2 separate regions of the Homo sapiens genome follow, and region 2 is linked to region 1. The links are contacts of gene promoters, found by promoter capture Hi-C in blood cells and fetal thymus (Javierre and others, 2016). All regions are on one chromosome and are shown on one strand. Each heading gives the region's core, a stretch centred on a gene start or on the middle of the fragment in contact. The rest is flanking DNA. Distances are from core to core; before and after follow the strand shown.

What was found. The method cuts DNA at HindIII sites, captures the fragments that hold promoters and counts their contacts. A CHiCAGO score of 5 or more calls a contact.
Region 2: a fragment that was not itself captured here is called in contact with the fragment with the promoter of CECR3 in region 1 in 2 of 17 cell types (erythroblasts and non-activated CD4 T cells); the score reaches 5.7 in erythroblasts.

The regions. Positions count from the first base shown.
Region 1 is chr22:17,264,116-17,268,369 of GRCh38, forward strand. CECR3 (cat eye syndrome chromosome region, candidate 3) reads right to left here and starts at 2,618. Exons shown (of 3, transcript NR_038398.2): 1 at 2,408-2,618. RefSeq lists enhancers at 1-240, 241-1,067. The HindIII fragment of the contact is 21,393 bases long and covers 1-4,254 here.
Region 2 is chr22:17,128,971-17,133,293 of GRCh38, forward strand. It overlaps LINC01664 (long intergenic non-protein coding RNA 1664), which reads left to right. Exons shown (of 4, transcript NR_103793.1): 3 at 1,392-1,514; 4 at 2,645-3,134. Among named protein-coding and RNA genes, the nearest start is that of LINC01664, 9.5 kb to the left of the region's middle. The HindIII fragment of the contact is 7,377 bases long and covers 1-4,323 here.

The DNA.
Region 1 (4,254 bases), core at 1,368-3,867:
CACCTGCAATTCCTTATAGCTGAACAAAGATGAATGACCCTAACCCGTTCAAGTCAGGCTGGACTCCTTCCACTCTGATCATACATTTGGTTTTACAAAGCGCTGAGCGACAGGAAGAAAGAATGGCTCTTACTGGCCGAGTTGAAGGGCTTCGAGCACATTTTTCTCAACAGCACAATCTGGCTCCCTGACACAAAAGGCAGGGAAAGGAAGGGGCAGCGGCTCCCAATGAACAGAGACGGATGGCGGCCGGGCCTCTGCCGCCACTGCTGTGCCCACTGGGCAGACCAGCCACATCTCCTGGCTCAGGCCAAAGACTAGGGCAGATGACACATGGGGTACTCACAGGAGAGCTGTGCTCAGGGCTTCCTGCTGGCCCCGGAACCTTCCAGAATGGCCTCTCACACACTCCCCGCCCTCCCTCCTTCTCTCTGTCTCTCCCGGAACCTTCCAGAGTGGGCTCTCACACACTCCCCTCCCTCCCTCCTTCTCTGTCTCTCTCTCTCTCTCAGTGAAAGGACTTCCTTGGCAAGAGTGTCAGGTTTCAGTTGTCTGTGTCCTGGGAAATTACAAGATCTTTCCCCTTTCTCTTTTTAGCTAGGATTACACATGCAGAGCCATTTGGCTCCCCTGGCCTGCGCAGCTGCTGCCGGCCGGGCCGGGGGATCATGCCAGGCAGCCCAGCCAGAGGTGAGCTGGGTCACAGGGGTGAGCTGCCAGGCCTGCTCACCCCTCTTCTTGGTGTGATCCCCTCAAGTCCAATCCCCAGGGACCTTCCCCAGGAATGCTGAGAGCACCAGCTGTCCCGGCCATGTCAGGCATCTGGCCACCAGGTCTCCTTCCACTCCAGGGGCAACCACCGCCAGAGGGAAAAACGGAAACACCAGGTTATTTGTGATCTGCATACTCACTCCTCGTTTAGAGAGACAAGCAGGAGGCCAGGGGAATAGATGGGACTGTGGGAACAGCCAAGGGCAGAGGGTGAAGGGCGGCGATCAGAAGGAAAGACGGAATGCCCACACATTCCCTGCCGCTCCCGGCTCCAGCCGTGGAGGAAGCGGGGCTCGGAGGACATTGCACCAGACAGGTCTTGTTTAGAAAATTGGAAAAGAACAAATATTGATTACAAGAGTGCAGGAGAATGGGCCCTTCCATCATCAAAAACAGGTATTCAGCCAGGCGAAGTGACTCACGCTTGTAATCCCAGCACTTTGGGAGGCAAAGGCAGGAGGATCGCTTGGGCCCAAGAGTTTGAGACCAGCCTGGGCAGCATGGTGAAACCCAGTCTCTACAAAAAATACCAAAAATTAGCTGGGTGTGGTGACGTGTCTGTGGTCCCAGCCATTCGGGTGGCTGAGGTGGGAGGATTGCTTGGGCCCGGGAGGTCGAACCATGTTCACACCATGGCATTCCAGCCTGGATGACAGAATGAGACCCTGTTTCTAATAATAACAGTAATAATAATAATAAAATACATACTCACTAGCTATGACTCTGCTTTACAGGATAATTGGGGCAAAAATGTTCTTGGGTGAAACTGGGTAACCTAATTTGAAAGGTCTGGGAAACATGGCCCAATTTCAGCCTCGCTCGCCACTCACAGGCCAAGTGGAGGTTGCGGTTCATAACATACTGGACACTAGACATCACTAATGCCTTCATTCTACAAATGGGAAAACCATGGCTGAGAGGTCACCTGATCTCCCAAGTTCACTCAGAGACGTGGGGATGGGCCGAGCTCCAGAGCCTGGGCCTTGCCCTGCTCCACCCCATACAGCACGAAGTTCCCTGGCCAACTAAGGAAGGAGTGCAAGGTGACTGAAGAAAACAAAAACAAACAGAACTGACACAAAAAACAAACAAACAAAACTGAGTGCCAAAGAAGGAGAATTTGGGGGCTGAGGCTGTGGCTGCAGAGTGGGAGTGGGGATAATCAACGCTGGGCTCCTGAGTGTCTCTGGAAGGGCGGGCCCTGGTGTCCAGAGCGCCTGGTGCCCACCTTCCCCTTTCCCCCAGGGCCCCTGTCTGAGAGCTCTTCTACCCACTCCTGGCTGCTGGGGCACCTGATATTTTCCAAAACACAATTTTCACACCCTTAATAGTGGGCTGCGGAGGAGTCAGGATCAGAGCCTCTAGCTCAGATTTCCTTCCCTGAAAGGATACGGTCTTAGAAACTGCATGCTGTGCAGAGTCCTATCATTCAGAAGAAACACAAAACCCAAGCCCTGGGGAGTCACGTGGCCACCACGGATGCCCCGGCCTCGGACTAAGCTAAGGGCATTAGCCCGGGTGGCCTGTAGCTGCTCTGCAGCTCTGATCAGTCCTACAGACACATGGCACCCCCCACCTGTCACCTTTAGGACCCTCCAGTCAGGCCCCCTTAAGATGCAGTGTTCCCCATGCTCACCTTTGAGGCTTACTCTGCTGCTAAGGAAACAGCATGCAACTTCCCAGGGTTATGAGAAATAATTTTCCTAGGAATGTCACCAGCTGCAGACGCCCCTGTCATAAACTGTCCCAGCTCTAAGCCGCCTAGGGCTTTTATCCCCTCCTCTTAGCTACTCATTACCCAGCTTAATTAGGCCAGGAAATGCTGGCGCTGAAGACACTCTCGGCAGGAGGCAGGGCTGGAGGAGAGATTCTCAGCAGCGCCACTTCCTGAGGCTTGATCTGGGGGCTGGGGAAGGCTGTGGAGGAGGTCGGCTGGGGATGGCAGGCTGCGTCCTCCAGTGAACAGCTGCTGGGAACGAAGCAGGGATGCACGCATTTGCTCCCCAGGCCCTCCAGGGAGCTGAGGGTTGCACTTGTTTACGGTAACAGCACCGGATCTGAAGGCCTTGGAAGGCTCTGCCTGCCCCCACCCCAACCCTCCCATCTCAATTAACCAGCTTCACCACCCCACCCCCACTCTTTCCTAGGGAAGAGGTTGAAACCTCAGTTACCACTCACAATATTTCAGCCCCAACCCTGACATAATCACAGTCAAAGACCCAGCCTGAGATGCCTTCCATTTTCAGCCAGCCCCTGACCTTCACCCTGAACCACCTTGGTCATGCACAACCTCCTGGTTCTTCACTAGGTGGAACACAGGAATGGGGTTGCCTGCTATAGAGCTGTATGTGCTTCACCCAGTTTTGGAGCTTTCTGCTCCAGTGGCGTTGGAAGGGGAGTAGCAATGTTGAGGGTTCATAGAATGGGGTTTATATCAGACAGATGGGGGTCTAGACTGTAGCTCTGCCCCAGGTCATTCTGTGACCTTGAATATGCTATTTCATTTTTCTGCACCTAAGTTTCTTTAGCTGCAAAAATGGGGGTGCTAATATCGGCTTCTTGGGAGGTTGAGATGATCTTATATCCTTATAGTAGACACAGGCAAATGTTCAGTAAGAAGTGGCCGGTATCTCCGATGTGGGGCACTAGTTCAGAGGCCTGCAGTTACCAACTTTTCTTTGCTGGGAGGTATGGAAAGGGGAAAACTAGTATTAATGAGATCCCGCTATCTGTGGAAGGTATTCATACTTACACGATTTTCCTTTCATTTCCCAATTATCTGTGGAGGCTTTGAGATTTAAATGAGTAAACTGAGGCTCGGAGAGGGTAGGAGGGTGAGTCATGCCTCATGAGTGGCAGAGCAGATCATACAACAGGGCTACGGCAGATGCCCAGGGCTGCTGAGTCTGGGACTGCTTCGTGGCCTGGAAATGTCAGAATGACACCAGTCTAGGCCAGGCGCAGTGGCTCAGGTCTGTAGTCCCAGGACTTGGGGAGGCCGAGGTGGGCGGATCACTTGAGGTCAGGAGTTCGAAACCAGCCTGGCCAATATGGTGAAACCCGTCTCTACTAAAAATTCAAAAATTAGCCAGTTGTGTTGTTGGGCGCCTATAGTCCCAGTACTCAGGAGCCTGAGGCACAAGAATCGCTTGGACCCGGAAGGCAGAGGCTGCAGTGAGCTGAGATCAAACCATTGCATTCCAGCCTGGGCGTCAGAGCGAGACTTATCTCAAACAAACAAACAAACAAAAGAATCACACCAGCCTAGAGCGAGTAGGATGACTAGAATCTCAGCAGCCACAGCACCAGGTGGATCATCGCCCTGGAGAGGGGAATATGAGGGCTGAGTCACAGTGTCATCCAAAAAGGACTTGTCAGCCTCTGCAGAGGCTGCCTCTCACCTGCGGAACACGTACCCACTGTGCTGTAAGTCCTGGAGCAATTTGCTTCAGCCTTCTCAGGTGTATGGTTTTATGCCTTGGC
Region 2 (4,323 bases), core at 429-2,928, 140 kb before region 1:
CTGTTCTCCAAGATAATGGAAGAAGGACCCTGAAGGCAATTCAGAGATCATGAGAGTTGGCACTCCCATCACCAGCCCAGAGTGCAAGGACCCACAGTGCAGAGCAGATTCAAAGGCTGGCCACCTCTCTGGTCCAGGCCAACCAAGGAGCAGGAATTAGGCCCTCACCAGACACCAAATCTGCTGATGCCTTGATCTTGGACTGTCCAGTCTCCAAAAGTATGAGAAATAAATTTCTGTTTTCACAGGACACCCAGTCTATGGTCTTCTAATAGCCTGAATGGACTAAGACATAGACCAATTGCACTTATGAACATAGACAAAGAACTCCTGAACAAATTACCAGCAGTAGCGGCCAGCAACATGTAACATAACCAACTTGGTTTTATCCCAGGGATGAAAGAAAGAGTTAAAGATGACAACAGGCTGGGCATAGTGACTCACGCCTGTTATCCCAACATTCTAGAGGCCAAGGTGGGAGGAGCGCTTGAAGCCCAGGAGTTTGAGAGCCGCCTAGGCAACATGGCAAGACCTCACCTCTACAAAAAATTAAACAATAAAATTAGCTGGGGTGTGGTGGCACATACCTGTAGTCCCAGCTACTTGGGAGGCTGAGGCGGGAGAATTGTTTAAGCCCGGGAGGTCGAGGCTGCCGTGAGCCAGGACTGCACAACTGTACTGCAACCTGGGTGACAGAGAGAGACCCTGTCTCCAAAAAAAAAAAAAAAAAAAAAGATAAAAACAAAATATATTAATATGGTTTACCATATTAACAGATTAAAGGAGAAGAACACTTAAGATCAACTCAACAAATACAGAGAAACAAACATTTAATATCTATTCATGAATTTCAACAAAAATTGAGCAAAACAAAATTTTTTGCTCTATTGGTCTTGCTCTGTTGTCCAGACCAGAGTGCAGTGGCACAATCATAGTTCACTGCAGGTTTGAATCCTGGGCTCAAGCAACCCTCCTGCCTCAGCCTTCCAAGTAGCTGTGACTACAAGCATGTGCCACCACGCCCAGCTATTTTTTTGTTTGTTTGTAGAGAGAGGGTCTCCCCATGTTGCCCAGGCTAGTCTCAAACTCCTGGACTCAAGAGATCCTCCTGCTTCTGCCTCCCAGAGTGCTGGGATTATAGGTGTAAGCCACCAAGCCTGGCCAGAATTTCTTTATTCCTAGTAAATAGTAATATGGCAACAGAGACAGACTAGATGCTGTTCAATCCCATTTCCTCTTCCTAGACAGAGAAAGACCACATTTCCCATCCTCTTTGCAGTCACATTAGAACCATGTGGCTAGCCAATAAACATGCACACATGTGGCACCCACCACAGCCTGGTTCGGCCATAAATCCCTTCACAGTTATCCATTCACACTCTCTCCCACAGACCTTGGACCCATGTGTGGAAGATGACAGCATCACCAACTGGAGGGTGCCTGGATCCCTGAGTCACCACTTGAAGCAAAAAGGTCAAGAGTAGCCACCTGACCCATATCAGGCTATGAAATGAGTAAGAAAGAAAGATTTTGTGAGGCCACATTTTCATACATGTGTAGGTCTGTTTCTGGGTACTCTCCTTTGTGCCATTGGTTTGTGTCTCTCCCTCTGCCAGTAGTACAGTGTCTTAATTACTGTAACTTCATAAAAATGTTTGATATCTGATAGGCAAGTCCAGGGTCAAGACAGGATGAATTCCTCTAGAACAAGGGAATTTCTCGTTTCTTTTCTTTCTTTCTTTTTTTTTTTTTTTTTTTGAGATGGAGTCTCACTCTGTCATCCAGGCTGGAGTGCAATGGTGCAATCTCGGCTCACTGCAACCTCCGCCTCTCGGTTTCAAGTGATTCTCCTGCCTCAGCCTCCCGAGTGGCTGGGACTACAGGCACGTGCCACCTGCCTGGCTAATTTTTGTTTTGTTTTGTTTTGTTTTTAGTAGAGATAGGGTTTCACTATGTTGGCCAGGCTGGTTTCAAACTCCTAACCTCAAGTGATTCGCCTGCCTCGGCCTCCCAAAGTGCTGGGATTACAGGCGTGAGCCACCGAGCCCGGCCCTCATTTCTTAACACTGCATTTGGTAGGAGAGCAACAGTCATTTATATGTGAATAAATGAAGCCGAAAGAGGAAGTTAGAAAGACCAAAGGGGCCGGGCGCGGTGGCTCCCGCCTGTAATCCCAGCACTTTGGGAGCCCGAGGCAGGCGGATCACGAGGTCAGGAGATGGAAACCATCCTGGCTAACACAGTGAAACCCCGTCTCTACTAAAAATTAAAAAAATAAAATTAGCCGGGGGTGGTGGCGGGTGCCTGTAGTCCCAGCTACTGGGGAGGCTGAGGCAGGAGAATGGCGTGAACCCGGGGGGCGGAGCTTGCAGTGAGTCGAGATCGTGCCACTGCACTCCAGCCTGAGCAACAGAGCGAGACTCCGTCTCAAGAAAAAAAAAAAAAAGAAAGACCAAAGGAAGAAGCAGACAAGAAAGGAAGAAGGAACACCCCTCCCCTCTCCAAAGAGACAGCTCCAGGAACGCCAAGGCTGCTCGCCTAGGGATGCAGAGCCAGAAAGCTCAAATCAGAGGGGGAGGAGGTAGGGAAGGAGTTTCAAGCTAGACTCCTATTCTCTCTCTCCATCCCCTCTCACCCCAAAAAGAGAGAAAATGACACGAGGCTTTGGAACCAAGAGCTGGAGGAACCTGGAAGCGAAAGCTGAGGCTGTCGGCTGCCCAGCAGTTAACACCCTGAGACCATCTTCCCACTTCCAACACCCACAGAAGCTGCCACCCAAGGGCCCCTGTGTCCCCGCATGGCCCACCTCAGCAGTATGATGCAGCACTGGGGAAGTGACAGAATGTGAAAAAAACTATTATAGCTGAGATATTTTAAAATTCCGCCCTCCAGGCAGCATCTGGTTGCTACAGCAACCCCAGCTCTGCAGGGTGTCCCGATTACCAGCAGGCTCCCTGCACCTGCCTCAGGCTGAGAGCAGGCGGCTGCCGCCAAGGGGAACACCAAGGAAATGCCCATGTTCTGATTCCAAGGTAATGGCTCAGACCCAAGGGGATTTTATCTGTTCAATGTGCAACCTGATGAAGTTTTGTCCCATGTTAATAATTTCATTAAAAATATGGCCTTACATCCTATTCGATGCACTCAGTCTTTTTTTTTTATTCACTCGGCTCCATCAAAACACAAAAAGATAACATTGTCATTCATTTGGGATTGAGCAAATGAAAGCAGCTGGATGAGTTTTGGTTCCAGGGTTTAGACAAAGCCCCTAAGGGACAAAATTGGAATCAGAGCTGAGTGGCTGGCCCTGCTCTCTGGATTTGCATAAGTCATGTGGCAGGACACTTGCTCTTTTGCACCCAGCCTAAAATAGCTTATGATATCTTTAGGAAACCCAAACGAGTAATAAATAGGGGGCTGGGCACTGTGGCTCACACCTGTTATCCCAACACTTTGGAAGGCTGAGGCAGGGGTATCACTTGAGCCCAGGAGTTCCAGACCAGCCTGGGTAACATAGCAAGTTCCTGTTTCAATAAAAAAATTACAGGCTGGGCACGGTGGCTCACGCCTGTAATCCCAGCACTTTGGGAGGCTGAGGCAGGTGGATCACCTGAGGTCAGGAGTTTGAGACCAGCCTGGCCAACATTGTGAGACCCCATCTCTATTAAAAATACAGAAAATTAGCTGGGTGTGGTGGCGGGCGCCTGTAATCCCAGCTACTCGGGAGGCCAAGGTGAGAGAATCACTTGAACTCGGGAGGCAGAGGTTGCAGTGAGCCGAGATTGCACCACTGCACTCCAGCCTGTGCGATAGAGCGAGACTCCGTCTCAAAAAAAAAAAAAAAAAAATTACATTAGCTGGGTGTGGTAGTGCACACCTGTAGTCCCAGCTATTTGGGAGGGTGAGGTGGGAGCATCACTAGAGCCCAAGGAAGTCAAGGCTGCAGTGAGCCATGATCACGCCACTGCACTCCAGCCAGAGTGTGTGGTGTGTGGTGGTACACACCTGTAATCCCAGCACTTCAGGAGGCTGAGGCGGGAGAATTGCTTGAGCCCAGGAGTTCAAGACCAGCTGGGTCAACATAGCGGGACCCCATCTCAAAATATAATAAATAAATAAGTGAAATTAAATGAGAAAGAATGAATGGTTTCTGACTTTGTGCCTTCATTTCTGAAAATGGCATAGATAAGAATTCTCTCTCCATGAGGGGCTTTGTGAGGCTCTAACAAAGTAGGAACGGATGACACCTGTTTCAAAATGCTTTGGAAAATGCTAACCACCATGCAAATGTGAGCCAGCAAGACTGGGTCCTGGCCAGCAGCT